2 separate regions of the Homo sapiens genome follow, and region 1 is linked to region 2. The links are contacts of gene promoters, found by promoter capture Hi-C in human tissues and cell types (Jung and others, 2019). All regions are on one chromosome and are shown on one strand. Each heading gives the region's core, a stretch centred on a gene start or on the middle of the fragment in contact. The rest is flanking DNA. Distances are from core to core; before and after follow the strand shown. Region 1 holds the start of CCDC87 (coiled-coil domain containing 87). Region 2 overlaps PC (pyruvate carboxylase).

The links. The method cuts DNA at HindIII sites, captures the fragments that hold promoters and counts their contacts. A contact is called where the count stands out against the background at its distance.
Region 1: the fragment with the promoter of CCDC87 here is called in contact with a fragment that was not itself captured in region 2 in 1 of the 25 tissues and cell types used here (dorsolateral prefrontal cortex).

The regions. Positions count from the first base shown.
Region 1 is chr11:66,587,467-66,594,758 of GRCh38, reverse strand. CCDC87 (coiled-coil domain containing 87) reads left to right here and starts at 1,696. Exons shown (of 1, transcript NM_018219.3): 1 at 1,696-4,583. The coding sequence starts at 1,744. The coding sequence ends at 4,293. It overlaps CCS (copper chaperone for superoxide dismutase), which reads right to left and starts at 1,574. Exons shown (of 8, transcript NM_005125.2): 1 at 1,459-1,574; 2 at 1,045-1,117. The coding sequence starts at 1,497. RefSeq lists enhancers at 1,710-1,799, 1,830-1,939, 2,110-2,169, 1,732-2,320, 2,321-2,910. The HindIII fragment of the contact is 7,748 bases long and covers 1-3,511 here.
Region 2 is chr11:66,942,959-66,950,216 of GRCh38, reverse strand. All of the region lies in intron 3 of PC (pyruvate carboxylase), which reads left to right. Among named protein-coding and RNA genes, the nearest start is that of PC, 12 kb to the left of the region's middle. The HindIII fragment of the contact is 7,176 bases long and covers 1-4,913 here.

The DNA of each region.
Region 1 (7,292 bases), core at 447-2,946, 360 kb after region 2:
CTGTCACCCAGCCTGGAGTGCAGTGGAGCGATCCAACTCACTGCAGCCTCCACCTCCTGGACTCAAGCAATCCTCCTGCTTTGGCCTCCCCAGTAGCTGGGACTACAGGAGTGCACCATGACGCCCAGCTAATTTTTGTATATTTTATAGAGGAGGGTTTTCGCCATGTTGCTCAGGCTGCTCTCAAACTCATGGACTTGAGCAATCTACCTACTTTGGTGTCCCAAAGTGCTGGGATTACAGGCGTGAGCCACTGAGCCTGGCCTGGATAAACACTTAACAGAATCAAAGGAAGCCAGTTCCCAGAGCCATGCTGGTGGCTCTACCTTTCCAGATCTTTCTCATTGTGCCAGGTCACCTCCAGACCAGCTGGCCTTTTATTTATTATTATTATTTTTTTGAGACGGAGTCTCACTCTGTTGCCCAGGCTAGAGTGCAGTGGCGCGATCTCGGCTAACTGCAAGCTCCGCCTCCCGGGTTCACGCCATTCTCCTGCCTCTGCCTCCCAAGTAGCTGGGACTACAGGCGCCCACCACCACGCCCGGCTAATTTTTTGTATTTTTTAGTAGAGACAGGATTTAACTGTGTTAGCCAGGATGGTCTCGATCTCCTGACCTGGTGATCCACCCACCTCGGCCTCCCAAAGTGCTGGGATTACAGGCATGAGCCACCACACCCAGTGGTATAGAAAGCTACCCAGGATGGTATAGGGCCTGAGCTGCTGTTTGCTTTGTCAAGATTATGTTGTTTCCCAAGCAAAAACTGCCTGTTTTCCCAGGAACTCCCTCAGCCTAGCTCCTCAGTCTCTGGGGCACCTGAGGTTCAGGACAACAAGACAGGCAGTTAGAATCTGTCAGGGCAAGCTGGACAGCTGTACTCTAGGCTCTGCCTCCAGGTCTGTGTGTAACTCTGAGAACATGCCTTTCACTCTCTGGGGTTCACTTTCTGCATCTGTAAAATGGGAGTAGGGTTCGCCTAATAGATTCGCCTGGTCCCTCCCAGAGGCTTCTGGACTGTCTGCAGAAAAGTTTACCCTGTTCTTACCTGCCACCCCTTGCAGGGATTTGCGCACCGCGTCCACACAGCTCTGACAGGTCATCTGCACCGCGAACTCCAACTGCAAGGGCGGCAGGGACCAACCGATGATCGCTGGGGAAGTGCCTTGGTATGACTTTGTTTCACCACCTACCCTATGACCACCGCAAGGGTCTGGGAACAAGCCCCACTTAACCCCTCTTCAAGCACCTTCTTCATGATCTCTCATGACCATTCCAGGACCATGGGAGTCACCCCCCAACACTCACGCAGGGCCCCTGCTACCCTCGCACCCTAGTTTCATCCCATGGCCCCAGGCCCCAACCCAAGTGCCCACTCCTTCTCCTCTTCCCAAGGTAACGATCATCCCAGGGGCCGAGGCTCTCTGCCCGGCGAGGCTCCACACGAAGCCTCGACCCTCACCGTGCAGAGGGTCCCCTGGTTCCCCGAATCCGAAGCCATTCTGGACCCAGTCACCACCCCGAGACGCAGAACTCCTCCGGCGCAGGAGCACCAACCAGCGCGGCGTCGCGGGGACTGAGCCTCTAAAGCCACCCTTAACTCCTCCTCCTAGTGCGTGCGCACGCAAGGCCCTGCTTCGTCAGCCACCGGGTGGCGGCCGCGCAGGCGCACTCGGGCCGTCGGGCTCCTGGTTGCCTTAGTAACCCCTCGGCTTTCTGTTCCTGGACGGTGGCGGCCGCCGGCTCTATGATGGAGCCCCCGAAGCCCGAGCCTGAGCTCCAGCGGTTTTACCACCGGCTGCTGCGTCCGCTGTCGCTCTTCCCCACTAGGACGACGTCCCCAGAGCCTCAGAAGCGCCCCCCGCAGGAGGGCCGGATTCTGCAGTCCTTCCCTCTGGCGAAGCTGACGGTGGCGTCGCTGTGCAGCCAGGTGGCCAAGCTGCTGGCCGGCAGCGGGATAGCAGCGGGAGTGCCTCCTGAGGCCCGACTACGTCTCATCAAGGTCATCCTGGACGAGCTGAAGTGCAGCTGGCGGGAGCCGCCCGCCGAACTTAGTCTGAGCCACAAAAACAACCAGAAGCTGCGGAAGCGGCTCGAGGCCTACGTGCTGCTGAGCAGCGAGCAGCTCTTCTTGCGCTACCTGCACCTGCTGGTGACCATGTCGACTCCCAGGGGGGTCTTCACTGAATCAGCCACCCTCACCCGGTTGGCCGCCAGCCTCGCCAGGGACTGCACACTCTTCCTTACTAGTCCCAACGTCTACCGTGGCCTGCTTGCCGACTTCCAGGCCCTGCTGAGGGCAGAGCAGGCCTCTGGGGATGTGGACAAGCTGCACCCTGTCTGCCCCGCTGGGACGTTCAAGCTGTGCCCTATCCCCTGGCCTCACAGCACTGGCTTCGCCCAAGTGCAGTGCTCTAACCTCAACCTGAACTACCTCATCCAACTCAGCCGTCCACCAGAGTTTCTCAATGAGCCAGGAAGGATGGATCCAGTGAAGGAATTGAAGTCCATCCCTCGGTTGAAGAGGAAAAAGCCTTTCCACTGGCTGCCCTCCATAGGAAAGAAGAGAGAAATCGACATCAGTTCCTCACAGATGGTGTCGCTGCCCAGCTATCCTGTGGCCCCCACCAGCAGGGCTTCCCCCTCGCCTTTCTGCCCTGAGCTCCGGAGAGGCCAATCCATGCCCTCCCTGCGTGAGGGCTGGAGGCTGGCAGATGAGTTGGGCCTTCCTCCACTCCCATCTCGCCCCTTAACCCCGCTGGTCTTGGCTACAGAGAGCAAACCAGAGCTGACTGGGCTCATCGTGGCTGAGGATCTGAAGCAGTTGATAAAGAAGATGAAGTTGGAGGGGACTCGCTACCCACCACTGGACTCAGGCCTGCCTCCTCTCCTGGGGGTTGTGACCCGTCACCCAGCTGCAGGGCATCGCCTGGAGGAGCTGGAGAAGATGTTGAGGAACCTCCAGGAGGAAGAAGCCTCTGGGCAGTGGGACCCCCAGCCCCCCAAATCCTTTCCACTTCACCCACAGCCAGTGACCATTACTTTGAAGCTTAGAAATGAGGTCGTGGTCCAGGCGGCTGCCGTACGGGTCTCTGATAGAAACTTCTTAGACTCTTTCCACATTGAGGGGGCCGGAGCCCTGTATAACCATCTGGCTGGTGAACTGGATCCCAAAGCCATTGAAAAAATGGATATTGATAACTTTGTTGGCAGTACTACCAGGGAGGTCTACAAGGAGTTGATGAGCCATGTCTCTTCTGACCACTTACATTTTGATCAAGGGCCCCTAGTTGAGCCTGCAGCAGATAAAGACTGGTCGACCTTCCTGTCCTCAGCCTTTCTACGTCAAGAAAAACAGCCTCAAATCATCAACCCTGAGCTGGTTGGACTTTACTCCCAGAGAGCAAACACTTTACAGTCCAATACTAAGAAGATGCCCTCCCTCCCATCACTCCAAGCTACCAAAAGCTGGGAGAAGTGGTCAAACAAGGCCTCCTTGATGAACTCATGGAAAACCACCTTGTCTGTGGATGACTACTTCAAGTACCTCACCAACCATGAAACAGATTTCCTTCATGTCATCTTTCAAATGCATGAAGAAGAGGTTCCTGTGGAGATTGTGGCCCCTGCCAGAGAGTCCCTAGAGATTCAGCACCCTCCCCCATTGCTAGAAGATGAAGAACCAGACTTTGTGCCAGGAGAGTGGGATTGGAACACTGTGCTAGAGCACAGGCTAGGAGCTGGGAAGACACCCCACCTGGGAGAACCCCACAAAATTCTGAGCCTGCAGAAGCATCTGGAACAACTGTGGTCTGTGCTTGAGGTCCCTGACAAGGACCAGGTGGACATGACCATTAAATATAGCTCCAAAGCCCGCCTGAGGCAGCTGCCTTCATTGGTGAATGCCTGGGAGCGGGCCCTGAAGCCCATTCAGCTGCGGGAGGCATTGCTGGCGAGACTAGAGTGGTTTGAGGGACAAGCTTCCAATCCCAACCGCTTCTTCAAAAAGACCAACTTGAGCTCCAGTCACTTCCTGGAGGAGAATCAGGTCCGAAGCCATCTCCACAGGAAGCTCAACTTAATGGAGTCTTCTTTGGTTTCCCTCCTGGAGGAGATAGAGTTAATCTTTGGCGAGCCAGTGATCTTCAAGGGGCGGCCCTACCTGGACAAGATGAAGAGTGACAAAGTGGAGATGCTCTATTGGCTGCAACAGCAGCGGCGGGTTCGCCACCTGGTCTCGGCCCTGAAGGATCCCCACCAGTCAACCCTGTTCAGGAGCTCAGCAGCCAGCCTTTAGTAGCTCCTGGGAATACCCCTATTACTCCTTGACCAGGCCCAGTGCCCTCAAATGCCTCCCTCACCCCTAAATGGCCAGCAGCTCATCTAGACCTCTTTACTGCTTTGGAAGAAGAAATATTTGTCTATATCTGGGAGTGGAGGGTTCAGGAACATTATGCTTCCAACTATGAAGGGATTGAGACTAAAACTATTGTTTTCTTAGTGAAATTCTCATGAAAGAATCCCCAAGCCTAGTAGTCCCATTATGTCAAGCCTTGCACAATACAAGCCAAATCTCCTATATCAAAAGAACTGAGACCTTGGAGTTAATTGTAGTGGGAAGGGTCAGAGGCAAAGGTGATCTTTGGAACAACTCACTTTAGCATTCCTATCACACTACATTAAATTGTCACCTCTTTTAGTTCTCAAACACTATTAGGAAGAAGAAAATTAATTAAATTTTTACCAGTTACGTGCACATGGTACAAAGTATACCAGGATGTGTACTGAAAAGTAAGCCTTCCCATACCCACCTCCAATGTCTGTTTCGTGCTGTGGGGATAAGTGTTACAATTTTTAAATTTAATTTAATTTTTATTTATGTATTTATTTATTTTTTGAGACAGAGTCTCACTCTGTTGCCCAGGCTAGAATGCAGTGGTACAATCTCAGCTCACTGCAACCTCTGCCTCCCTGGTTCAAGCGATTCTCCTGCCTCGGCCTCCTGAGTAGCTGGGATTACAGGCGCCTGCCACCACGCATGGCTCATTTTTGTATTTTTAGTAGAGATAGGGTTTCACCACGTTGGCCAGGCTGGTCTCAAACTCCTGAGCTCAGGCGATCCACCTGCCTCAACCTCCAAAAGTGCTGGGATTACAGGTATGAGCTACAGCACCTGGATTTTTTTTTTTTTTTCAATTTTAGAGATGGGGTCTTGCTCTGTTGCCCAAGCTGGAGTGCAGTGGCCTGATCATAGCTCACTGCAGCTTGAACTCTTGGGCTCAAGCAATCCTCCTGCCTCAGCCTCCTAAGTAGCTGGGACTACAGCTGCTCACCACTGCACCTGGCTAATTTTTTGAGTTTCTTAAAAAAAAAACAAATATATATATATACACACACACATACACACACATATATATGTGTGTGTGTATATATATATGTGTGTATATATATATATTTTTTCTTTTGAGAGGGAGTCTCGCTCTGTCGCCCAGGCTGGAGTACAGTGGCGCAATCTCGGCTCACTGCAAGTTCCGCCTCCTGGGTTCATGCCATTCTCCTGCCTCAGCCTCCTGAATAGCTGGGACTACAGGTGCCCACCATCACGGTCAGCTAATTTTTTTTTATTTTTAGTAGAGACGGGGTTTCACTTTGTTTTTTAATTTATTTTTTTATTGATAATTCTTGGGTGTTTCTCACAGAGGGGGATTTGGCAGGGTCATGGGACAACAGTGGAGGGAAGGTCAGCAGATAAACAAGTGAACAAAGGTCTCTGGTTTTCCTAGGCAGAGGACCCTGCGGCCTTCCGCAGTGTTTGTGTCCCTGATTACTTGAGATTAGGGATTGGTGATGACTCTTAACGAGCATGCTGCCTTCAAGCATCTGTTTAACAAAGCACATCTTGCACCGCCCTTAATCCATTTAACCCTGAGTGGACACAGCACATGTTTCAGAGAGCACAGGGTTGGGGGTAAGGTCACAGATCAACAGGATCCCAAGGCAGAAGAATTTTTCTTAGTGCAGAACAAAATGAAAAGTCTCCCATGTCTACTTCTTTCTACACAGACACGGCAACCATCCGATTTCTCAATCTTTTCCCCACCTTTCCCGCCTTTCTATTCCACAAAGCTGCCATTGTCATCCTGGCCCGTTCTCAATGAGCTGTTGGGTACACCTCCCAGACGGGGTGGTGGCCGGGCAGAGGGGCTCCTCACTTCCCAGTAGGGGCGGCCGGGCAGAGGCGCCCCTCACCTCCCGGATGGCGCGGCTGGCTGGGCGGGGGGCTGACCCCCCACCTCCCTCCCGGACGGGGCGGCTGGCCGGGCAGAGGGGCTCCTCACTTCCCAGTAGGGGCGGCCGGGCAGAGGCGCCCCTCACCTCCCGGACGGGGCGGCTGGCCGGGCGGGGGGCTGACCCCCCCACCTCCCTCCCGGACGGGGTGGCTGGCCGGGCGGGGGGCTGACCACCCCACCTCCCTCCCGGACTGGGCGGCTGGCAGGGCGGGGGGCTGACCCCCCCACCTCCCTCCCGGACTGGGCGGCTGGCCGGGCGGGGGGCTGACCCCCCCACCTCCCTCCCAGACGGGGCGACTGGCCGGGCAGAGGGGCTCCTCACTTCCCAGTAGGGGCGGCCGGGCAGAGGCACCCCCTCACCTCCCGGATGGGGCGGCTGGCCGGGCGGGGGGCTGACCCCCCCACCTCCCTCCCAGATGGGGTGGCTGGCCGGGCTGAGGGGCTCCTCACTTCCCAGTAGGGGCGGCCGGGCAGAGGTGCCCCTCACCTCCCGGACGGGGCGGCTGGCCGGGCGGGGGGCTGACCCCCCCACCTCCCTCCCGGACGGGGCGGCTGGCCGGGCGGGGGGCTGACCCCCCACCTCCCTCCCGGACGGGGTGGCTGCCGGGCGGAGGGGCTCCTCACTTCCCAGATGGGGTGGCTGCCGGGCGGAGAGGCTCCTCACTTCTCAGACGGGGCAGCTGCCGGGCGGAGGGGCTCCTCACTTCTCAGACGGGGTGGTTGCCAGGCAGAGGGTCTCCTCACTTCTCAGACGGGGTGGCCGGGCAGAGACGCTCCTCACCTCCCAGACGGGGTCGCGGCCGGGCAGAGGTGCTCCTCACATCCCAGATGGGGCCGCGGGGCAGAGGCACTCCCCACATCTCAGACGATGGGCGGCCGGGCAGAGACGCTCCTCACTTCCTAGATGTGATGGCGGCTGGGAAGAGGCGCTCCTCACTTCCTAGATGGGATGGCGGCTGGGAAGAGGCGCTCCTCACTTTCCAGACTGGGCAGCCAGGCAGAGGGG
Region 2 (7,258 bases), core at 76-2,575:
TGGGGATGTGTGTCACCTTTCTCTTGTCTGTCACTGAGTGCTGCAGTTACTATGAAGTGACACATGCTGCCCATTTATTACGTTTGCACATCACTTTATGCTGCTTTGGAGCCTCTTCTCATGTACATGCTGTGTATCAATGTGAAATGTATTAATATTAAATCATTAATAATAAGTATATTATTTATTCTGGAAAATATTTGTCTCTTGCAATGTGTGAGGAACCAGAGGTTCAGAGAGACTAGAGACTAAGCGACTTGGTGAGTTTCGGGTGACTGGTGCGTGGCATGTCTGAGGGAGGTTTGGATGCCACACCCACTCCTACCCCTGGATTTTTATGTAATGCAAAGATTATTCAGAAATTACTTTGGTCGAAAACAATTGATTTTCAATTTGTTAAAATTATGAATTCAGAAACCTAGTTATTTTAAGGGCCAGTCTTTTAAGTTTAGCTTATAAGTGTAGCCTATAAATCTTTCTGATCTATTTACGATTCTAGGACATTTTAACAGTCACTTTCAGGGGGCTTTTATTTATTTATTTTTTTTGCGATGGAGTCTCGCTCTGTCGCGATCTCGGCTCACTGCAACCTCCGCCTCCTGGTTCAAGCGATTCTTCTGCCTCAGCCTCCTGAGTAGCTGGGATTACAGGCGCCCGCCACCATGCTGGCTAATTTGTATTTTTAGTAGAGGCGGGGTTTCTTCATGTTGGTCAGGCTGGTCTCGAACTCCTGACTCAAGTGATCTGCCCGCCTCGGCCTCCCAAAGTGCTGGGATTACAGGCGTGAGCCGCCGCCCCGGCCTTAGGGGGCTTTTTGATTAATGCTTGGTCCCATTTGCAAATTTGATGAAACTTCTGAAATGTTTCAATTGAACTTATAAATCATATTCAACTTCAGTTAACTATTTTAATAATTCTTCTGGCCGGGCATGGTGGGTGGCTCACGCCTGTAATCCTAGCACTTTGGGAGGCCAAGGCGGGCAGATCACGAGGTCAAGAGATTGAGACCATCCTGGCCAACATGGTGAAACCCTGTCGCTACTAAAAATACAAAAATTAGCTGGGTGTGGTGGTCACGCGCCTGTAATCCCAGCTACTTGGGAGGCTGAGGCAGGAGAATCGCTTGAACCCGGGAGGCGGAGGTTGCAGTGAGCTGAGATTATGCCACTGCACTCCAGCCTGGCGACACAGCAAGACTCCATCTCAAAAAAATAATAATAATAATAAATAATAATAATAATTCTTCCATTTTTCTGATTAAAAAAACCCTCTAATACCTAAATGACTCTTGTAAATCTAATAAATGAAGCTGAATATTACACTTTTCTTAAACTTTCCTATACCGTTTTATGTTTTGTTTGTTTATTTTTGTTTATTTTGAGACGGTCTGATTCTGTCACTCAGGCTGGAGTACAGTGGCACAGTCTCAGCTCACTGCAACCTCTACCTCCTAGGCTCAGGTGATCTTCCCTTTTCAGACTCCTGAGTAGCTGGGACTACAGGTTCAAGCCACCACACCCGGCTAATTTTTGTACTTTTTGTGGAGACGGGGTTTCACCACATTGCCCAGGCTCATCTCGAACTCCTGAGCTCAAGCAATCAGCCCGCCTTGGCCTCCCAAAGTGCTGGGATTACAGGCGTGATACATTTTAGTTTTTACAATAGCTTTATTGGAGTATTACTGAGATATAATAAGTTGCACATATTTAAAGTATACAGTTTAGTAAGTTTTAACATATGTGTACCCTTGTGAAACCATCACTGCAGTCCAGAGAGTGAACACATTCATCACCTTTGGAATTCCTCCCTCTGCCTCCTCACTCTTCAGGAAACCATGGAACTGCTTTCTGTTACTATAGGTTAGTTTCCATTTTCTGGAATTTCACATAAATTGACTCATACAGTATATATTCTTTTTTCTCTGCCTTCTTTTACTCAGCATAATTATGTTGAGATATGTCCATGTTGTTGCTTGTATTGATAGTTCATTTCCTTCTTTTTTTTTTTTTTAAGACAGAGTCTTGCTCTGTCACCCAAGCTGGAATATAGCGGCGTGATCATAGCTCACTGCAGCCTTGATCTTCTGGGCTCAAGTGATCTCCCATCTCACTGAGTAGCTGGAACTACAGGTGTGTGCCACTACGCCTGGCATATCTATCTATCTATCTATCTATCTATCTATCTATCTATCTATCTATCTATCTTTAGTAGAGATGAGATCTCGGTATGTTGCTTAGGCTTTTTTTTTTTTTTTGAGACGGAATCTCACTCTGTCGCCCAGGCTGGAGTGCAGTGGCATGATCTCGGCTCACTGCAACCTCTGCCTCCCGGGTTCAAGCGATTCTTCTGCCTTAGCCTCCCAAGTAGCTGGGACTAGAGGCGCCCACCACCACGCCCAGCTAATTTTTGTATTTTTAGTAGAGAGGGGGTTTCACCATGTTGGCCAGGCTGGTCTCGACTCCTGACCTCAAATGATCCACCCCACCTCAGCCTCGAAAAGTGTTGGGATTACCTGCGTGAGCTACCGCACCTGGCCCTTAGGCTTGTCTTGAACTCCTGAACTCAAGCAGTCCTTCCCACTTTCCACCTTGGCCTCCCAAAGTGCTGGGGTTACAGGCATGAGCCACTGTTCCTGGTCAGTTCTTTTTTTTTTTTTGAGACTGAGTCTTGCTCTGTCGCACAGGCTGGAGTGCAGTGGCACGATCTCGGCTCACTGCAAGCTCCGCCTCAACCTCCCGAGTAGCTGGGACTACAGGCACCCACCACCACACCCAGCTAATTTTGTTTTTGTATTTTTAGTAGAGACGGGGTTTCACTGTGTTAGCCAGAATGGTCTTGATCTCCTGACCTTGTGATCCTCCCGCCTCGGCCTCCCAAAGTGCTGGAATTACAGGCATGAGCCACCGCACCCAGCTTTTTTTTTTTGCTGATTTCATTATATGGGTATTACAGTTTATCCAGTCACCTTTGTTGGTCATCTCAGGTGCTTCTACTTTTTGGCATCTACAAATAAAGCTACTGTGAACATTTGTGTATAAGTCTTTGTGTGAACATATATTTCCTTTTCTCTTGGGTAAATGCCTAGGAGTGGAGTGGCTGGATCCTGTGGTAGCTGTATGTATGTTTAACTTGAACTGCCAAATTTTCTGACGTGGTTGTAGTATTTTACATTCCTACCAGCTGTGTATGAGAGTTCCAGTTTCTCTTCATCCTCCCCAACACTGGCTATGGTTAGTCTTTTAAATTTTAGCCATTTAAAAAGGTATATGGTGGTATCTCATGGTTTCAATTTGAATTTTCCTAATGATAATGATGTTGAGCATCTTGTCATGTGTTTGTCATCTGCCAGTACTGATTTTAAACTTAGTAAAATTTCTATGTAAAATCACACGTCTAAACTAACTACTCAGTTACATGTTTTTTGTTTTGAGACAGGGTCTTGCTCTGTGCCCCAGGCTGGCTTGCACTGATGCGATCGTGGCTCACTGCAGCCTCGACCTCCCATGCTCAAGCGATCCTCCCATCTCAGCCTCTTGAGTAGCTGGGACCATGGCATGCACGTCATGCCTGGCTGATTTAAAAAAAATTTTTTTTTTGAGATGGAGTCTCACTCTGTTGCCCAGGCTGGAATGCGGTTTCATGATCTTGGCCTACTTGCAACCTCCGCCTGCTGGGTTCAAGCAATTCTTCTGCCTCAGCCTCCCGAGTAGCTGGGATTACAGGCGTGGCCCAGCTAATTTTTGTATTTTTAGTAGAGACGGGGTTTCACCATATTGGCCAGGCTGATCTCGAACTCCCGACCTTGTGATCTGCCCGCCTTGGTCTCCCAAAGTGCTGGGATTACAGGCATGAGCCACTGCACCTGGCCTTTTAAAAAATTTTCTTTGTAGAGGTGGGATTTCACTGTGTTGCCAGGGCTGGTCTCAAACTGCTATCATGCGATCCACCTGCCTCAGCCTCCCAAAATCATGTGGTTACAGATGTGAGTCACCACGCCTGGCCTCAGTTACATGTTTTAATTGGAATCTCAAGACTGATTTGTTATTCTAAACAGACCATATTCTCTTAGAGTACATAAAGTAACAGACAACACACAGATTTCTTTTTTTTTTTTTTTTTTTTTTGAGACGGAGTCTCGCTCTGTCGCCCAGGCCGGACTGCGGACTGCAGTGGCGCAATCTTGGCTCACTGCAAGCTTCGCTTCCCGGGTTCACGCCATTCTCCTGCCTCAGCCTCCCGAGTAGCTGGGACTACAGGCGCCCGCCACCGCGCCCTGCTAATTTTTTGTATTTTTAGTAGAGACGGGGTTTCACCTTGTTAGCCAGGATGGTCTCGATCTCCTGACCTCATGATCCACCCGCCTCGGCCTCCCAAAGTGCTGGGATTACAGGCGTGAGCCACCGCGCCCGGCCAGATTTCTTAACACAAAAATATAAATACTATGGTTTTTATTTTCCTAGCCTTGTCTATATTTAATCTAATATTTTCCTGGAATTAGAGAAGCTTACCTAATAAGGAATTAAATACATGATTTTAAAGTATAGTAAATTATTTTTCTAATTAACTTTTGGCCTTTCTTTCTCAACTGGATGACATTTTCTTTATAATTAAAGAGACCCCTGGCAGGGATGAAACTGGACTTTGAATCTAACTGCTAAGCAGAGCCTGCTCCACTGCCACCATTTTGCCTCCAAATGGGGATGGTCTCACAGCCCATGTGCCTCAAATAGAAGTATCACATTACTAATGTCTTCCTCTTCTCATCTCATGTAACTCTGCAGTTCCGACCCGCCCCCCCAAACCATTTGAATTCAGTTAATCTATTTAAGGCTTCCTTTTTGTTATGCAGTATGGCCACAAAAATAGGTGGAACTAAATACAAAATAGATACAGTTTAGATTCTTTAGATTCTCTGTATCTCCCAAGGCTTTCTCTGACCAAGGACTAGTAAAATCATGTCTGACCCACCAGGGCTAGAATTTGAGTCCCAGTCTTCTGAGTCCATGTCTGGCATTTCCTTCCATCTCTTAAACCTTTTCAAATAAAGAGAAAGAGGGTGGTACTTAAGAGTTCTTACTTTCTGATCACGCCTGGTTACCAATAAATTATAGCATCTGGAACCAGTGCCACCTTTTTCATGTTCTTCAGTTCACGCCCCTGGAAATGGTGAGAATTTTGGCCTCTCCCTAACCTCCCGGTGGAGAGCTACCAATCTTTGGAGAGCCCATTGCCATCAAATTCTTGTTAGAAATCTGCGTCTTGGATGATAACTAGATGCAGAATTGCATTCCTGTCCTGGTCACTGGGTATGGCCCCAGGAAGCTTGTAGGTGGTGAGTGGACCTGGTTGAGAATTATTAATGCAGTTTGACCTCTCCGTTGATGTCTGATGCACATGTGGCCCAATGTGAGTAAGAGCAGAGGTTTGTAGAGTGACAAGAAAAGGACATTTGGGGGAGAAATTGGCAGGAGGCTGACTTAGGTTTTTGCGCTGCAAGAGTTTTTCGTCCCCCATTTTAAAAAATTGTGGCAAAATACATTGTCTTCATCCCTTTGGGCTGCTATAACAAAATAACCTTATTCTAGGTAATTTATAAACAATAGAAATTTATTTATTTATTATTTTTATTTATTTATTTTTTGAGACAGTCTTGCTGTGTCACCCAGGATGGATGCAGTGGTGCAATCTCGGCTCACTGCAACCCCTGCCTCCCAGGTTCAAGCGATTCTCCTGCCTCAGACTCCTGAGTAGCTGGGATTATAGGTGTGTGCCACCATGCCCAACTAATTTTTGTACTCTTAGTAGAGATGGGGTTTCACCATGTTGGGCAGGCTGGTCTCGAACTCCTGACCTCAAGTGATCCGCCTGCCTTGGCCTCCCAAAGTGCTGGGATTACAGGTGTGAGCCATTGCGGCCGGCCTGAAGTTGTTTTTTCTGAGACGGAGTCTTGCTCTGTCACCCAGGCTGGAGTGCAGTGGTGCAATCTCGGCTCACTGCAAGCTTCTCCTCCTGAGTTCATGCCATTCTCTTGCCTCAGCCTCCCAAGTAGCTGGGACTACAGGCGCCCACCATCACACCCGGCTAATTTTTTGTATTTTTATTGGAGACGGAGTTTCACCGTGTTAGCCAGGATGGTCTCGATCTCCTGACCTTGTGTTCCGCCCGCCTCGGGCTCCCAAAGTGCTGGGATTACAGGCGTGAGCCACTGTGCCCGGCCTTTTGTTCTTTTCTTTTTTTTTTTTTTTTGAGACAGTTTCGCTATTATCACTCAGGCTGGAGGGCAGTGGCTCACTGCAACCTCTGTCTCCTGGGTTCAAGAGATTCTCTGCCTCAGCCTCTCTATTAGCTGGGAATACACGCGCCTGCCACGACGCCCGGCTAATTTTTGCATTTTTTAGTAGAAACGGGGTTTCACCATGTTGAGAAATTTCTTTTTTTTTTTTTTTTTTTTTTTTTTTTTTGAGCCGGAGTCTTGCTCTATAGCCCAGGCTGGAGAGCAGTGGCGCGATCTCTGCTCACCACAAGCTCCGCTGCTTCCCGGGTTCATGCCATTCTCCTGCCTCAGCCTCCCAAGTAGCTGGGGGACTACAGGCGCCTGCCACCACGCCCGGCAAATTTTTTTTTTTTGCATTTTTAGTAGAGACAGGGTTCCATCGTGTTAGCCAGGATGGTCTCAATCTCCTGACCTCATGATCCTCATGATCCGGGCCTCGGCCTCCCAAAGTGTTGGGATTACAGGCGTGAGCCACCGCACCCGGCCGAGAAGTTTATTTCTTAACGGTTTTGGAAGCTGAGAAGTCCAAGATCAAGGCAGCAGCAGATTCGGTATCTGGTGAGGGCTTGTTCCTCACAAATCATGCTGTCTTCAGGCTGCGTCCTCACAGGGTGGAAGGGACAAGGCAGCTCCTTTTGACCGTGACCCCTTTTTTTTTTTTCCTCCGACTCCTGGGCTCAACATCTTCCCACCTCAGCCTCCTGACTAGCTGGGATTATAGGCGCCAGCCACCATGGCCAGCTCGACCTCTTTTATTAGGATGCTAATCCTACTCATAGAACAGGACCCTCATGACAACCTCCTCAAGGCCCCACCTCTTAATACGATTGCATTGGGAGTTAGGTTGAACATGTGAATTTTGAGGGGATGTCCATATAACACATGTATTATGTACACCTGATATTAAACTTACTTTTTTTTTTTTTGAGATGGAGTTTCGCTCTCGTTGCCCAGGCTGGAGTGTGATGGCATGATCTTGGCTCA